Regions from separate parts of the Homo sapiens genome. Here regions 2 and 3 are each linked to region 1. The links are contacts of gene promoters, found by promoter capture Hi-C in blood cells and fetal thymus (Javierre and others, 2016). All regions are on one chromosome and are shown on one strand. The core of a region is centred on a gene start or on the middle of the fragment in contact, and the rest is flanking DNA. Distances in the headings are between cores, read along the strand shown. Region 1 holds the start of MRPS17 (mitochondrial ribosomal protein S17). Region 2 has its middle 24 kb from the start of LINC03129. Region 3 holds the start of ZNF107 (zinc finger protein 107).

Region 1 (5,132 bases), core at 1,843-4,342:
CCCAACTGTGCACTGCTGAAGGGCATCGTGAGCAAAGTAGGTTTTCCGCTTATTAAAATACTGTTGAGAGAGGGAGAGAAGCAAATCAGTAGTTCCCATCTGTGACCTGGTAATGTAATATGTAATATGAAAAAGTAACGTATGGAAAACAAGCCAGGACTTAGGAAAAGATAAGATACTAAGGAGGCTTCTAGTACAAAAATTAGAGCCTGAGTGATATAGTGAGACAATCCAGTGAGATGGATTCTCGCTCTGTTGCCCAGGCTGGAGTGCAATGGCACGATCTCAGCTCACTGCAACCTCCGCCTCCCAGATTCATGAGATTCTCCTGCCTCAGCCTCCCAAGTAGCTGGAATTACAGGTGCCTGCCACCATGCCCGGCTAATTTTTTGTATGTTTTTTTAGTAGAGATGGGGTTTCACCATGTTGGCCAGGCTGGTCCTGAACTCCTGACGTCAGGTGATCCACCTGCCTCGGCCTCCCAAAGTGCTGGGATTACAGGCATGAGCCACCGCGCCCAGCCTAGAATCACCTATTCTTTATAACAACCCTGTTGCAGCAGGTACATATGAGAAAAGTTCAGGGAGGTTAAGCCATGTGTGTAGCTGGTAAACAAGAGTCAGTATTCAAACTAAGGTCTCCCAAAGGTCAAGGATCATGCAGTCACTCTTCAGCTTGCTCCTGTGTTTCTAATCCTTGATAATGACCAGCATTGGTACCCACCTGTGTGCTGAACTTTGGATGTGAAACCATCCTTGGCACCTATCCGTCCCCTGGGCACAGCAAACAAATCAATGACTCTGTCCTTCCTGAAATATTTTTTCCACTCCATCCCCACTACATCAACTTTAGTTCAGGTCCTTATTTCCATCCTAGACTTTTGCAGCAGCCTCTTTGCCCATTCCCTTACCTCCAGTCTTCATCCCTACCCGTGTTTCCAAGCCTGTCTTTGGGTTCAAGCAGGGATCCCCAACCCCCAGGGCAGCAGACTGATACCATTCAGTGGCCTGTTAGGAACAGGGCCGCACAGCAGGAGGTGAGTGGCGTTGAGCCAGCATGAGTATTACCGCCTGCGCTCCACCTCCTGTCAGATCAGCAGCGGCATTAGATTCCTATAGGAGCACAAACCCTATTGTGAATTGTGCATGGTAGGCAGAGTTTTGCTCTTGTCCAGGATGGAGTGCAATGGTACAATTGTGGCTCATTGCAACCTCCGCCTCCCGGCTTCAAGAGATTCTCCTGCCTCAGCCTCCAGAGTAGCTAGGATTACAGGTGCGCACCACTATGCCCAGCTAATTTTTGTATTTTTAGTAGAGACGGGGTTTCACCACGTTGGCCAGACTGGTCTCGAACTCCTGATCTCAGGTGATCCAACCGCATCGGCCTCCCAAAGTGCTGGGATTACAGGTGTGAGCCACCTCATCCGGCCAGTACTTTGCATACAGAATGACTACAGCAGTTAGAGTGGATTGACATTAACTGTTTTCTTGGAATGTGTAAACCGTGTTATACCTACAGACCAGCAAAATGCCTGGCTCAAAGCAGATGAGAGACAAGACATCTTTACTGAGAGATAAATGTTTTTTTGCTTAGGACCCAGGACATGGTGGTGATTTACCAAAGCCACCCGGAAACAAGAATGTTTCTCACCTTTAATAAATAGGGATCCAGAACAAGCCTGGTCACTCTCACTTTAGCAGTCTTTTGCATTTTTGTCCCAATCACCTTCCCCACAATCCATCTGGCATGGACGGATGAGCGAACTACGGACATTACGTGGCTTTGGTCACCTGAAAAGCAAATTCCAAAGTCTCATATTCTGGTGGTTATGATGCCACATGAATTTTGTCACAAGAACTGTCCAGGTTAGTCCAGAAACAGTTTTTTTCTTTTTCGTTCCCCCCTCCACCCAGAAACAGTTTTGTTTTGTTTTTTTTTAGATGTAGTCTCTCTCTGTCGCCCAGGCTGGAGTGCGGTGGTGCGATCTTGGCTCACTGCAAACGCCGCCTCCTGGGTTCACGCCATTCTCCTGCCTCAGCCTCCCGAGCAGCTGGGACTACAGGCGCCCGCCACAACGCCCGGCTAATTTTTTTGTATTTTTAGTAGAGATGGAGTTTCACCGTGTTAGCCAGGATGGTCTTGATCTCCTGACCTCGTGATCCGCCCGCCTCGGCCTCCCAGAGTGCTAGGATTACAGGCGTGAGCCACCGCGCCCGGCCATATGTATTTTTCTTTAGATGAAGTTTAGTTCTTTCGCCCAGTCTGGAGTGAAGTGGCGCGATCTCGGCTCACTGCAACCTCCGCCTCCCGGGTTCAAGCGATTCTTCTCCCTCAGCCTCCCGAGTAGCCGGGACTACAGGCCCGCACCACCACGCCGAGCTAATTTTTGTATTTTTAGTAAAGACAGAGTTTCACCATGTTGGCCAGACTGGTCTCGAACTCCTGACCTCAGGTGATCCGCCCGCCTCAAGCCTCCCAAAGTGCTGGGATTAAGAGGCGTGAGCCACCGCGCCCGGCTTGAATCACCATTTCAGAGATGCTTACACGTTCCCCACTACCCAACCTCTCATCTTTACAGCGCTTACAAAGCGGTAACTTTAACTTCGCCAAGCCTCACGTTCCCCTTCTGCAAAATGGGCAGGCCTATTTCGCAGGAGTGCTTTGAGAATTTGACCCACAGAACGCTCAATACCACGGACAAACGCTGGACGTTACTGGTCCCTTATCTCTCTCCACCCCGCTGGGTCGCCTCTCCCCACAGGCTCAGTGCCCAGGTAGCACTCGGCGGGGCCGCCGCGGTGTCCCCCTCCCCGGCCCAGCGACGGATGACTTGGGCTGCTTTTGAGATCAGTTCACAAGCCATTCCACCAGGCTTCGGAAAGGTTGGGGTGATTCGTGCCCTCGCCCCAGACAACCCCGAGGTCAGACGAAGCGATTCGCTCTCAGGGCTCTCACGCGAGGGTGCCTTGGGTCCCCAGCAAATCCTCCCCCGGCAGCAATACCCCGGAGCCTGCCCTCACCTCCACCACGAGACTCACCTCCGCCAAGACTATGCAGCCACCTGCCCCGGGGAGCGCCGGTCGCAGCGGGATGGCGTCACGCCGTACGCATTGGCTCAGTCCCACACTACCCCTCTCGTAGGCCGTGCATCTCCTTAGCCGTGGGCGGAGTTAAAGGCAGGACCCCGCCCACTCTCCCTTAAAGGGACCCGCGGCGGTGGCGGGGTCGGGGGCGCTGACCTCTGGTTTCCTAACGCGCGCAGCTAGTGGACAGTGGCGCAGGAGGTTTCGGACTTTTCTTTCATTCTTTTGTTTTGTTTCTTTTTTTTTTTTTTTTTTTTGAGACGGAGTCTCGCTCTGTCGCCCAGGCTGGTGTGCAGTGGCGCGATCTCTGCTCACTGCAACCTCTGCCTCCCGGGTTCAAGCGATTCTTCTGCCTCAACCTCCCAAGTAGCTGGGATTACAGGCGTGCACCACCATGCCCAGCTAATTTTTGTATTTTTAGTAGAGACAGGGTTTCACATGTTGGCCAGGCTGGTCTCGAACTCCTGGCCTTAAGTGATCCAACCACTTTGGCCTTTCAAAGTGTTGGAATTACAGGCGTGAGCCACCGTGCCTGGCCTAAAAGTGTTTTTTTTTTTTTTTTTTTTGAGACAGGGTCTCACTCTTGTTGCCCAGGCTGGAGTGCAGTGGCATGATCTTGACTCACTGCAACCTCTGCCTCCTGGGTTTAAGGGATTCTCCTGCCTCAGCCTCCTGAGTAGCTGGGACTACAGGCATCTGGCACCACGTCCAGCTAATTTTTTTTATTTTTAGTAGAGACGGGATTTCACCATGTTGGCCAGGCTGTTCTTGAACTCTTGGCCTCAAGTGATCCACCTATTTCGGACTCCCAAAGTTCTGGGATTACAGGCATGAGCCACTGTGCCTGGCTGGTCCAGATTTACCTATACTTTCCCTGACCAGTTATTGTATCAGAAGTTTTTCAAACGAAAAATATCAGTGGGGAGTGGTACTTAGCAACAAAGCTCTGAGTGCTAGGTGAGCAACTTGCTACTGGGATTTTCCTGCCTGTAGGCTATTTCAGCAGATGTAGCTATCGATACATTGAAACATACACACACGCACACACACACCTACCTTTAAACAGCAGTGGGTTTCTTTCTTTTTTGGGACGGAGGCTGTCTCTGTCGCCCAGGCTGGAGTGCACTGGCGCGATCTCGGCTCACTGCAAGCTCCGCCTCCCGGGTTCACGCCATTCTCCTGCCTCAGCCTTCCGAGTAGCTGGGACTACAGGCGCCTGCCACCAGGCCGGCTAATTTTTTGTATTTTTTTTAGTGGAGACGGGGTTTCACCGTGTAAGCCAGGATGGTCTCGATCTCCTGACCTCGTGATCCGCCCGTCTCGGCTTCCCAAAGTGCTGGGATTACAGGCATGAGCCACCAGTGGGTTTCTTCTTTTGCTTCACCAGTTCCGTATTTTTATCTCCTTTCTTCCACAGTTAGAACTCTGGTCCCTACCCCGACAACATCAATGATTAATGCTAAATCCTATAGTATACACTATATGCTTTTGGAGTTGTACTAACAATATCCCGACTAAAAACAAACTTTCTAAGTGATGCGTGAGATTATTTTTTGTGGTTCTTTTTGTCCTTAGAGTGTACAATGACAGCACTGTGTTCAACATTTCTTGGGATTCTTTTTTTTTCTTCTGTGTGGTTGTAACAATATTCTATACAATTAGATTTTTTTTTTTTTTTCAGACGGAGTCTCGCTCACAATCTCGGCTCACTGCAAGCTCTGCCTCCTGGGTTTACGCCATTCTCCTGCCTCAGCATCCCGGGTGGCTGGGACTACAGGCACCCGCCACCACGCCCGGCTAATTTTTCTTGTATTTTTAGTAGAGATGGAGTTTCACCGCGTTAGCCAGGATGGTCTCCATCTTGTGACCTAATGATCCGCCCGCCTCGGCCTCCCAAAGTGTTGGGATTACAGGCGTGAGCCACCGTGCCTGGCCTTCATTTTTATATGTTTGTATACAATTTTGTATTCGAGGATAGGAAAAACCATATCCTTTTAATCTTATTTTTTGAATGTGTAAATCATTAAAATGGTTCAAAAATTAAAACTT
Region 2 (5,132 bases), core at 1,423-3,922, 9.9 Mb before region 1:
CCTCCTGAGTAGCTGGGATTACAGGCATGTGCCACCATGACCAGCTAATTTTTGTATTTTTAGTAGAGACGGGGTTTCATCATGTTGGTAAGGCTGGTCTTGAACTCCTGACATCAGGTGATCTGCCCACCTCGGCCTCCCAAAGTGTTGGGATTACAGGCGTGAGCCACCGTGCCCAACCCCAACCACATTTTTTGAGGCTTGGAACTTTCAGCCTTACTGGCTGAACTCCAGGAGGCAAAAGGGGCTGGAGATTGACTTAACCACCAATGGCCAATGATTTTATCAATCATGCCTCCATAAAAATCCTAAACAACAGGGTTTGGAGAGCTTCTGTGTTGCTGAACACAAGGAGGTGCTGGGAGGGTAGCATGCCCAACAGAGGGCATGGAAGCTCTGTGCCCCTCCCCACTTACCCTGCAATACATCTCTTTCATTGGCTGTTCCTGAGATGCAGCCTTTACACTGAGCCAGTAATAGAAAATAAACTGGCCAGATGTGGTGGCTCATGCCTGTAATCCCAGCACTTTTGGAGGCAGAGGTGGGGGAATCACTTGAGCCCAGGAATTTGAGACCAGACTGGGCAATGTAACAAGACCCCATCTATACAAAAAATTAAAAAAATTAGCCAGATGTGGTGGTGGGAAACTTGTAATTCCAGCTACTTGAGAGGCTGAAGCAGGAAAATCACTTGAGCCCTGGAGGTTGAGGCTTCAATGAGCTATGATTGCACCAGTGCACTCCAGCCTGGGCAACAGAACGAGACCCTGTCTCTTAAAAAAAAAGGAAAAAAACCCTGTTTTTCTAAGTTCTGTGAGTTGTTCTAGCAAATAATTAAACCCAATAAGAGGATCATGGGAACCCCTGATTTCTAACTGGTTGGTCAAAATACAGGTGACAACCTAGGACTTGCAACTAGCATCTAAAGTGAGGGTGGTCTCGTGGGACTGAGCCCCTAATCTGTAGGGTCTGCACTAACTCCAGGTAGTGTCAGGATGGAACTGTGGGATACGCAGTTGGTATCCAGAGAGTTGGAGAATTGGTGTAGAAACTCTGCACTCACATTTTGTCAGAAGTGTGTGAGTAGAGAGAAACATGGGTTCTTCTCTCACCTGTCTACCTGCTTAACTGCATAGGAGAGGCAATGCATGGTGCTCATGAACAAAGCAAGCATTAAAGTCAAACAAGACCCAACATTTGACTCAGTCTTAATATCCAGGTGAGCTTGGGCAAATCACTTATTATCCACAAGTCTTCACCATTTTGTGTGTAAAATGGAGATAACTGTGGCACCTATCTGTGATTTTGTGAGAACTAATGAAATACTATGATTGGTGTTATTGTGATCATTATACCTATTCTAAACTATTTGACAAGGAGAGGGATGCATAATAATGTCAACAGATTAGAAACTGTAATGAGGTCTCTTGGGCAAAATTCCATACAAGCAAATTACTGTCTCTCCAATGCATTCCTGCCACACTTAATTCACCATTCCCTGAATAAAATGTGCCATTTTCATTGTCCAGGTCTTTACAGTGCTGGTTTCCCTGCCTGGGGAGCTCACTCCAACCCATCCCAGCCCATTCCCCACCCCTCCACCTCCCCCTTCCCTCCCCACTCTCATGCAACTCTTACTCATCTTTCAGGACCCGGTTTCAATGTTATCTTAACTGGAAGCTTCTCTCACCCTCCAGAAGAGCTTCCCATTGCACTTCATGCATGTACTGTTATTTGACCATTTTTGTGTTATAGTTCAAGTCTTTTTGTACCTGAATAAGATGTTGCCCAGTCAGTCTCTCTTCCTGGACTCTGAAGTCTTTCATGGTAGATTCAGCTGAAAGTGACATAAAGACATTCTTTAAAAAAAAAGAAAAAAAAAAAGAGGGATGACACAGACAGACATCAGTACTTAAAAGTTTTAAATGGTATGTGAAAAGCAAACAAAATTCAAGGGCTTCTAGGAAAAATGTAGGAGGGAAGGTGTCACTGGGAAATATGATAAAGGGTAATTTTTATTTTATTTTATTTTTTGAGAAAGGGTCTTGCTCTATTGCCAAGGCTGTACTGCAGTAGTGCGATCACAGCTCACTGCAGCCTCAACCTCCTGGGCTCAAGAAATCTTCCCACCTGATTTTTATTTTATTTAAGAAACACAGTCTTACTCTGTTACCAAAGCTGGAGTGCAGTGGTATGATCATAGCTTACTGCAGCCTCAACCTCCTAGGCTCAAGTGATCCTCCAGTCTCAGCCTCCGTAGGAGCTGGGACTACAGGTGTCCACCACAATGTCCAGCTCATTTTTTTTTTTAATTTTTAGTAGAGACAAAGTGTTGTTATGTTGACCAGGCTGATGGTAATCTCCTACCCTCAAGCAGTTCTCCCACCTCAGCCTTCCAAAGTGCTGGGATTACAGGTGTGAGCTGCCACATCTGGCTGAGGGGGTTAATTTTTAATTATATAAAGAGCTCAAAGCAAATAGTAGAAGGAGCCTAAATGCCTATAGCGGCTGACTGGTAAACTGTGATACATCCATATAATAAAATATTATGCAACCATGAAAAGGATTAAGAAAGATCAATAGGTATTGGCATAGATGTCCATGAAATATGAAAATGTGAAGTGAAGTCCAATTAGCCTGTATCTTGAAAAATATGGCCCTTTTTCTCAATAGCAATTATTTCCTGAGATAAGATCATGGGTCTAAAGAGCAAAGGAAAATTTTCACTTCTTTCTTAAAAATATTTACTATTTTTATAATTTAAAGAGATTAAATAAATAGATTGTCAAATTAGTAAAAGACACATTAACTCTATAAATAAATGGAGAAGTCACAGACAGCCCAGGCATGGTGGCTCACACTTATAATACCAGCACTTTGGGAGGGGGTCGGGGAGGATTGCTTGAGGGCAGGAGTTCCAGACCAGCCTGGAAAACATAGCAAGACATCATCTGTACTAAAAAAAAAAAAAAAAAAAAAAAAAATTGCCAGGCATGGTGGCATGTGCCTACAGTCCCAGCTACTGAGGTGGAAGGATCACCTGAGCCCAGGAGGTCAAGACTGTGGTAAGTTGAGACTGTGCTTGTGCCACTACACTCAAGCCTGGAAGACAGAGCGAGACTTAGTCTCAAAAAAAAAAAGACAATAAAGAAATAAAGCTAACAAGCTAACATAAGAAAAGATGTTAAAATGTGACAAATAAGATGGGCACGGTGGCTCACGCCTGTAATCCCAGCACTTTGGGAGGCCGAGGTGGATGGATCATGAGTTCAGGAGTTCAAGACCAGCCTGACGAACATGGTGAAACCCTGTCTCTACTAAAAATGCAAAAATTAGCCAGGCATGGTGGCGTGTGCCTATAATCCCAGCTACTCAGGAGGCTGAGGCAGGAGAATTGCTTGAACCTGGGAGGCGGAGGTTGCAGTGAGCCAAGGTCATGCCACTGCACTCCAGCCTGGTGAGAGAGCAAGACTCTGTCTCAAAAAAAAAAAGTGACAAATGAAAATAAAGTAATATGAGGTCTTTTATTTATTAAAAATAATCAAACAGAAAATAACTTGTTAAATTATAATACCCTGTGCTGGCAAAGGTGCAGTGAAATGGGCATTTTCTTTTACTATTAGTGATGTTTAAATTGTAAATAAACCTTCCAGGGTAAAGCTTGGCAATTTTTTAAAAATAATACAGACAGTGACTCACTATACTGCCTCCTCCAACTCCTGGCCTCAAGCAGTCCTCCCACCTCAACCTCCAAAAGTGCTGGGATTATAGGTCGACAGCCACCATGCCTGAAAGCTTGGCAATTTACATCAAGCATAATAAGAATGCTCATGCCCTGTGACTCACAGTAATCTCACTTCTGGAAATATCATCTTTGGATATAATTCAACCTAAACAAAAGGTCATATGCACAAACACAGTGAAAATCTTGGGGTATTTTTTTTCTCTTTTTTAAAAAAATATGGAATGCTTCACAAATTTGCATGTCATTCTTGCACAGAGGCCATGCCAATCTCTCTATTGTTCCAACTTTAGTATATGTGCTACCGAAGCAAGCATGAGTAATTTAAGATAAAGTGGTTAAGTGAAATAAGGAAGAGTTACGGGGAATTTAAAAATCTATGGTATTTATAGGGATCTCATAACAGCTCAGTAAATATTAGCTGCTACTTTTATTATTTTTATGGTAATTCCACTCAATTAAAAATTGTCACTAAAAATTACCATTGTCATGGAACATAATGTATCCTACAGTATAACTGTAAAAACAGATACAATTTGTCCCTTGGTATATGGGGGGATTGGTTCCAGCTCCTCCATTTCTATGTATACCAAAATCCACACATACTCAAGTTTTCCAGTCAGTCCTGGGGTATTGAGATATATATATATATATAAAATGAGAAAATTAGTGAGGTGTGGTGACAAGCACCTGTAGTCCCAGCTACTTGTGAGGCTGAGTCAGGAGGATTGCTTGAGCCTGCAGTGAGCCATAATTGCACCACTGCACTCCAGTCTGGGCAACAGAGTGAGACAGAAGGTTGACTGTTTAATAGAATTTTTCTGTTGACTTGAACATATGGTCAGGACTGTGGTATATGAAAATTCTTCATAAGATAACTATCTAATCCAATTAATGCTGGAATTGGGAACAGAAAATGTTTTGGTGACTATTTATTTCTTCACTTGCTGTTATATAAACTATTGCCAGTGGGTACTTAACAACCAAGAATGTCATCTCTGAGCTACTCACAATGAAAGGTGATGTCTGGGACCCAGGTGTGTTGAGGTCCCCATGTCTGGGCTATGGGTGCTGAGTGGGACTTACTTATCCATCCATTTTCTATATTCTGGCACTGGGAAACTTGGGTTTATCCATCTTGATAAAAGGTCATTTAAATTCCACTTGGCAAGAACCACAAATGGAAGAAAGGTCACGAAATCACAGGCTAGCCCTTGTTCTCAAGGGAATCTTCAGCTTAGGTGGCTCTGTAAAAGAGGAATCGCATTGTTGAAAAATCATCGTAGGTCAGCTGAGGTGGCCCATACCTATAATCCCAGCCCATTGGGAGACTAAGGCAGGAGGATCCCATGAGGCCAGGAGTTCAAGACCAGCCTAGGCAACACAGTGA
Region 3 (5,132 bases), core at 1,683-4,182, 8.7 Mb before region 1:
TCCTCTCTCACCATGGAAGGAGACCTGGAATCACAGGACAATGGGCAGTGTGACAGTCTGTGTACAGGAGGGTAGAGCGTCGCATTCCCAGACACCCAGAGTTCCACTCCAGGCCAGGCCTCTGTGATATCTTTCTTTTGGCACCAAATCTGTAAAGTTTGCTTAACACCAAGCAATTCTCCAAAACTAACACATTGTTTAACATTTGAATTCTGACCCCAGAGTCAGCAGACCCTGATTCAGGGCTCAGTCCCACAACACTGTCCTCACTGCAGATGCCAGTCAAAAACCATACGGGCCTATCAGTGCTTCTAAACTACTGTTTGAAAATTTAGAATTCCCATAACTCCCTCAAGTTCAATAATTTGATAAAGCTACTCACAGAACTCTGCAAAACACTGTGGTTATGTCGACCAGTTTACTATACAAGATACAACCCAGGAAAATTCAAATGGAAAAAATGTATAGGACAAAGAAAAGAGATGGGGAAAGATGAAGCACATAGATAATCCTGGTAAATAGCTGCGATTAATAAAAGTCCCCATCCTTTGTGTTCTCCAGGAACAGTTTATGAAAAGAAACACCCTTCCCATTATGACTTAGATGGTACTCTTTTTCTTAACTGTTTAATAACCAAACACTCACTCTGCATATTTTCTTTTTCATATTAAAAAATTAGCTGAATTTTTCTTCAGTGGTCAAAAGAAAGTTCTTCTTAATCAAACTTCACTTAAGTTTATCTCCTTTCCACAGGCTCCTGAACTTTGAGGTACCCTCAGTCTGAGCCAACATACAACCCCATTTTTTGTCCCTCCTAAAGACTTGATGACTTCAGGATAAAAGTGTTCTAATCTAGTATTTGATTTTTTTCACCCTCCATTTGCCATTCCCCTGTGACCTTCTTTCTAACCTTCTTTGCTCCTCCCTAAAAAAAAAAGTCTTTGTCTGCCTAAACTTTGCAATTCTTAAAGATCTTTTAGTTGGTATTTCCTTCTGTTGCAATACTCCTTTAAAATTCAGAATTTTTTTTACAGAAACCTTATTCTGTTTTTACAAAAAGTAAAATACTGCCTCAAAACGATAACAACTTCATCTTTAGTAAGACTCTCTCATTCCCCTTCCATCTTAACGTTAACTGCATCTGCCTGTGGGTCCCCCGACGTCCAGGGCTCTGTAGCTTCTCTCAGAATAAAGGCTTCTTCCATGGCTGGGGTGAGCAGGGGAGGCTTCCAAGAAAGAACTAACTGGGCCTTTAATAACCTCCCTTCCCTTTGCAGGCTCAATATTAGCCTTAGCTTGGAATCACTGGGCATAAGCTTTAATTTCCATGTCAAGGTTATTCACTTGGGTTTTGAAACTGCTTTAAAAATTCAGCAAAATTATGCACAGTATTTATATATGGGAAGGAAATTATTTTTTCTTTTTTTTTGAGACAGAGTCTCGCTCTGTTGCCCAGCCTGGAGTGCAGTGGTACACTCTTGGCTCACTGCAACCTCTGCCTCCCAGATTCAAGTGATTCTCCTGCCTCAGCCTACCGAGTAGCTAAGACTACAGGTGCCTGTCACCCACACCTGGCTAATTTTTCAGTAGAGACGGGGCTTCACCATGTTGGCCAGGCTGGTCTTGAACTCTTGACCTCAGGTGATCCGCCTGCCTCAGCCTCCCAAAGTGCTGGGATTACAGGCGTGAGCCACTGCACCCAACCAAGGGAAGGAAATTTTAAGGTGCTTACATTTCATACCTCAGTAAGAAATGCAAAGTATTTATTTCTTTCAGACGATAAATGTATTATTCTATTATTTTCATTAAAAATTAGGTAGTAATCAATTAGTCATATGGGATTAGTAATCAAGAAGTCATACTTCTAGGAGGTACCAACTTTCATCTCATAAAATTTAGCATTAACCAGCTGGGTGCAGTGGCTCATGCCTGTAATCCCTTGGGAGACCAAGGCAGGCAGATCACTTGAGGTCAGGAGTTCAAGGCCAGCCTGCCCAACATGGTGAAACCCCGTGTCTAATAAAACTACAAAAATTACCTGGGCATGGTGGTGCATGCCTGTAATCCCAGCTACTTGCGAGGTTGAGGCAGGAGAATTGCTTGAGCCCGGAAGGCGGAGGTTTCAGTGAGCCGAGATCGCACCACTGCCCTTCAGCCTGAGCAACAGAGCGAGACTCCATCTCAAAAAAAAAAAAAAAAAAAAAAAAAAAAAAAAAAAATTAGCGTTATCCTCACAAATCAAGATGATAGGATATAGAACAGAGGTATTTACTGTAACAAAAGTACCCTGCAAAAAGAGGAACTGATGCTTTCATAAATCTATGTAACTCATCAATTATCTACCACATTTTCTTGTAAAAATGTATTCATTTTCTACAGTCAAAATGGAAGAGAGGTTTTTTTCCTTTTTGTTTCCCTGCTAGCACTCTAAAAACTAAGCCTTGGAATACCGTTGGACATCACCCAGCCATAAAAAACACACCTGAGTAAATTCCTAAACTAAGTCTGGGAAAGAAAAAGGTAAATGAGAATTCTTAATAAATGGAATATATGATTAGATATTATTTTTCTCTGAAACTCACCTCTTTTATGCTCTGTAAATATTTTCTTAACTTTTAAATCATACTAATAAAATGCAAGTTACAGTTATAAAACTGAAATCAAAATAAGTGAACAAATCTTTTCAAGGTGACAAACCCAGGGAGTGGCGGGGCTGATTAGAAAACAGATGTGTCTGATGAGTTCATGGCCTTTGCAGGGACATGGATAAAGCTGGAAACCATCGTTCTCAGCAAGGACAAAAAACCAAACACCGCATGTTCTCACTTATAGGTGGGAATTGAACAATGAGAACACATGGACACAGGAAGGGGAACATCACACACTGGGGCCTGCTGTGGGGTGGGGGGAGGGGGGAGGGATAGCATTAGGAGATATACCTAATGCTAAATGACGAGTTACTGGGTGCAGCACACCAACAGGGCACATGTGTACATATGTAACAAACCTGCACGTTATGCACATGTACCCTAAAACTTAAAGTATAATAATAATAAAAAAAAAGAAAACAGATGTGTCTGACTCATGTGTCAAGTCAGGCCACCCAAACACTAGATTCTCCTACCCCATCCTGCTCATTTAAGTGCCCAATGACCACCCTCTCTGTAGACACTGCCCTATGCCTCAGTGACTACTCCAAGTGCATTTCATTTTGCAAGTTCTTGTACCATCTCACTGGGGTCAAGTTTGATTTTTTTTTTTTTTTGTCTTCTGGAATACTATTTTTTCTTTCACAAATCTTAGAGAATCCAGGGGGCAGAAATTATTTCTGAGTTTTCCTCTCAATACCAGCATCTGATTGGCTGACCAGCAATGTACCTCTGAGAAATGGAAGTCGGGTTGAGTGAACACAATCTTAATGCCTCAAAGGGTTAGCTTTCCAAAGGAAGGGTATACCAGGAGATTCCTCTCAGCCCCAGGGCATCCACCTGCTCCCTTGAGAGGCTACACTCCAACCTCAGATTGTCCTCTGTCTCCCATTCCCAGATACCCAGAGTTCCATTCCAGGCCAGGAGCTGAAATTTACTAGAGATTCTAGCATACACAGCCACAGTTGATATCTTGATTTATCCCCAGACAGTACTGAAACCCAGGACCAGGAGAAAACCGAAAGGTGGCTGAGGACACATCACCCTGTAAAGTTTCCAAAGGGAAACCTTGACCCAAAAACATTCTGATAAGATCTCTGCGCCTAGGGAAGATAAAAGGAAAATAGGCACAGACTTTTTTTTACAATACAGTGTCAGGGGATTATTTTTTGTTTTCTTCTCATTGGAAATATTTTCAAACAGCAAACAATTTGTTTAAAGTGCCACCCAATAATTTGTCAACAATGATTAATTAAAATACAGTATCTAAAATGTACACTAAAGGACAAATAGTTGATAATGTGAATTAGGGAGGGGAAGCTGGGATTTGGGAATGTCAAAGGAAACTGGAAATTTAGCATTTTACTGAAAGTCAGTTAGGCTAAAAGAATGGGGAATAGGGAGTAGTCTTGAGACCCTGCTTGAGACACGTGAAAGTTGCAGGGGAAAATCTGTCCCCTGTGGAGTGTGAAAATAACTAAATGGCAGGCAATTAGACTGAGGTGGCTCTAGTCCCAGGGTTTTTACTTTTTAAAAAATCTAACTCAAATGCTTTTTTTTTGTAAATTACTACATTGGGGAAAACAAAATTTAGACTTAATCAACCATGAACTGCCAATTAAGCTCTGATTACGTGACCAGAAAATTTCCACCTTCATCTAAAACTAAGAAACTACGTAACTCTACCTAACCAATTATTGAGTTTGCTTTCCTTTATCATGCACCTTCTAAAAGTCTTTTCTTCAAGCCCCTCCCATGGAAAATAAACTACAAACCACAGCTGGGTGCTCTATAATTCTTCAATTACTCTTTGATTAAATTCTTTAACATTTTTGTGGTGACTTCCATAGATTTTTAAGAGAAAAAAGATGGACTAGGAACCCCACAGACTAAAGCTTTTCCCATTCATGAACCCCGCATCCCGAGTCAGGATTCTCCCCTGATGACCCTCCCGGCATCCCTGCACAATCGGGGAGAGATGCCGCGCTGCGGGTGCAAAGCCGCCCGGAGAGGGCTCCAGGCCAGGGCACAGTCACTGAGCAGGGAGGAGACAGGACGCCCAGGGTCCCGGCTGTCAGCCCAGCCGCCATCTTACGGCTGAAGGGGACTGAGGACCGAGCTGCGCCAAGGAGAACTCGGGGCCGCGGGGGACTGAGGGCCGAGCTGCGCCAAGGAGAACTTGGGGCCGCGGACTTTGGAGGCCCGAGTCCAGCCACAGCCACTTCCGATCGGTTCCAACCAGCCCCTCCCCCTCTCTCGGGATGTCGGACCCAGCACTCTCACCATTTCTAGGTTTCCAGGGAGTCCCGGCGTCTTAGCTGTGGATCTCCCAATATCTGCAGGTCACAGGGACACAGAGGCTGGGCCTCTAGGAGCAGAGGACACTGAGCAGTGAGGAGGAGAGCAGGAGCTCCGGCTGCAGCCAGAGACAAAGGCCCCGCCAAATCCCGGAAGCCGTCCTGTCCGCTCCAGCTGCGTGCCTGA

The links. Contacts are between HindIII fragments. The CHiCAGO score rates a contact against its expected background, and 5 or more counts as called.
Region 2: a fragment that was not itself captured here is called in contact with the fragment with the promoter of MRPS17 in region 1 in 1 of 17 cell types (erythroblasts); the score reaches 8.5 in erythroblasts.
Region 3: a fragment that was not itself captured here is called in contact with the fragment with the promoter of MRPS17 in region 1 in 1 of 17 cell types (total CD8 T cells); the score reaches 5.1 in total CD8 T cells.

What each region holds. Positions count from the first base shown.
Region 1 is chr7:55,949,837-55,954,968 of GRCh38, reverse strand. It overlaps MRPS17 (mitochondrial ribosomal protein S17), which reads right to left and starts at 3,092. Exons shown (of 3, transcript NM_015969.3): 1 at 3,039-3,092; 2 at 1,651-1,790; 3 at 1-60. The coding sequence starts at 1,773. RefSeq lists an enhancer at 2,980-3,039. The HindIII fragment of the contact is 16,512 bases long and covers 1-5,132 here.
Region 2 is chr7:65,813,599-65,818,730 of GRCh38, reverse strand. It overlaps the pseudogene RNU6-912P. Among named protein-coding and RNA genes, the nearest start is that of LINC03129, 24 kb to the left of the region's middle. The HindIII fragment of the contact is 1,980 bases long and covers 1,683-3,662 here.
Region 3 is chr7:64,666,085-64,671,216 of GRCh38, reverse strand. It overlaps ZNF107 (zinc finger protein 107), which reads right to left and starts at 5,084. Exons shown (of 4, transcript NM_001282359.2): 1 at 4,932-5,084. The coding sequence starts at 4,934. RefSeq lists enhancers at 4,757-4,876, 4,897-5,046. The HindIII fragment of the contact is 3,227 bases long and covers 1,319-4,545 here.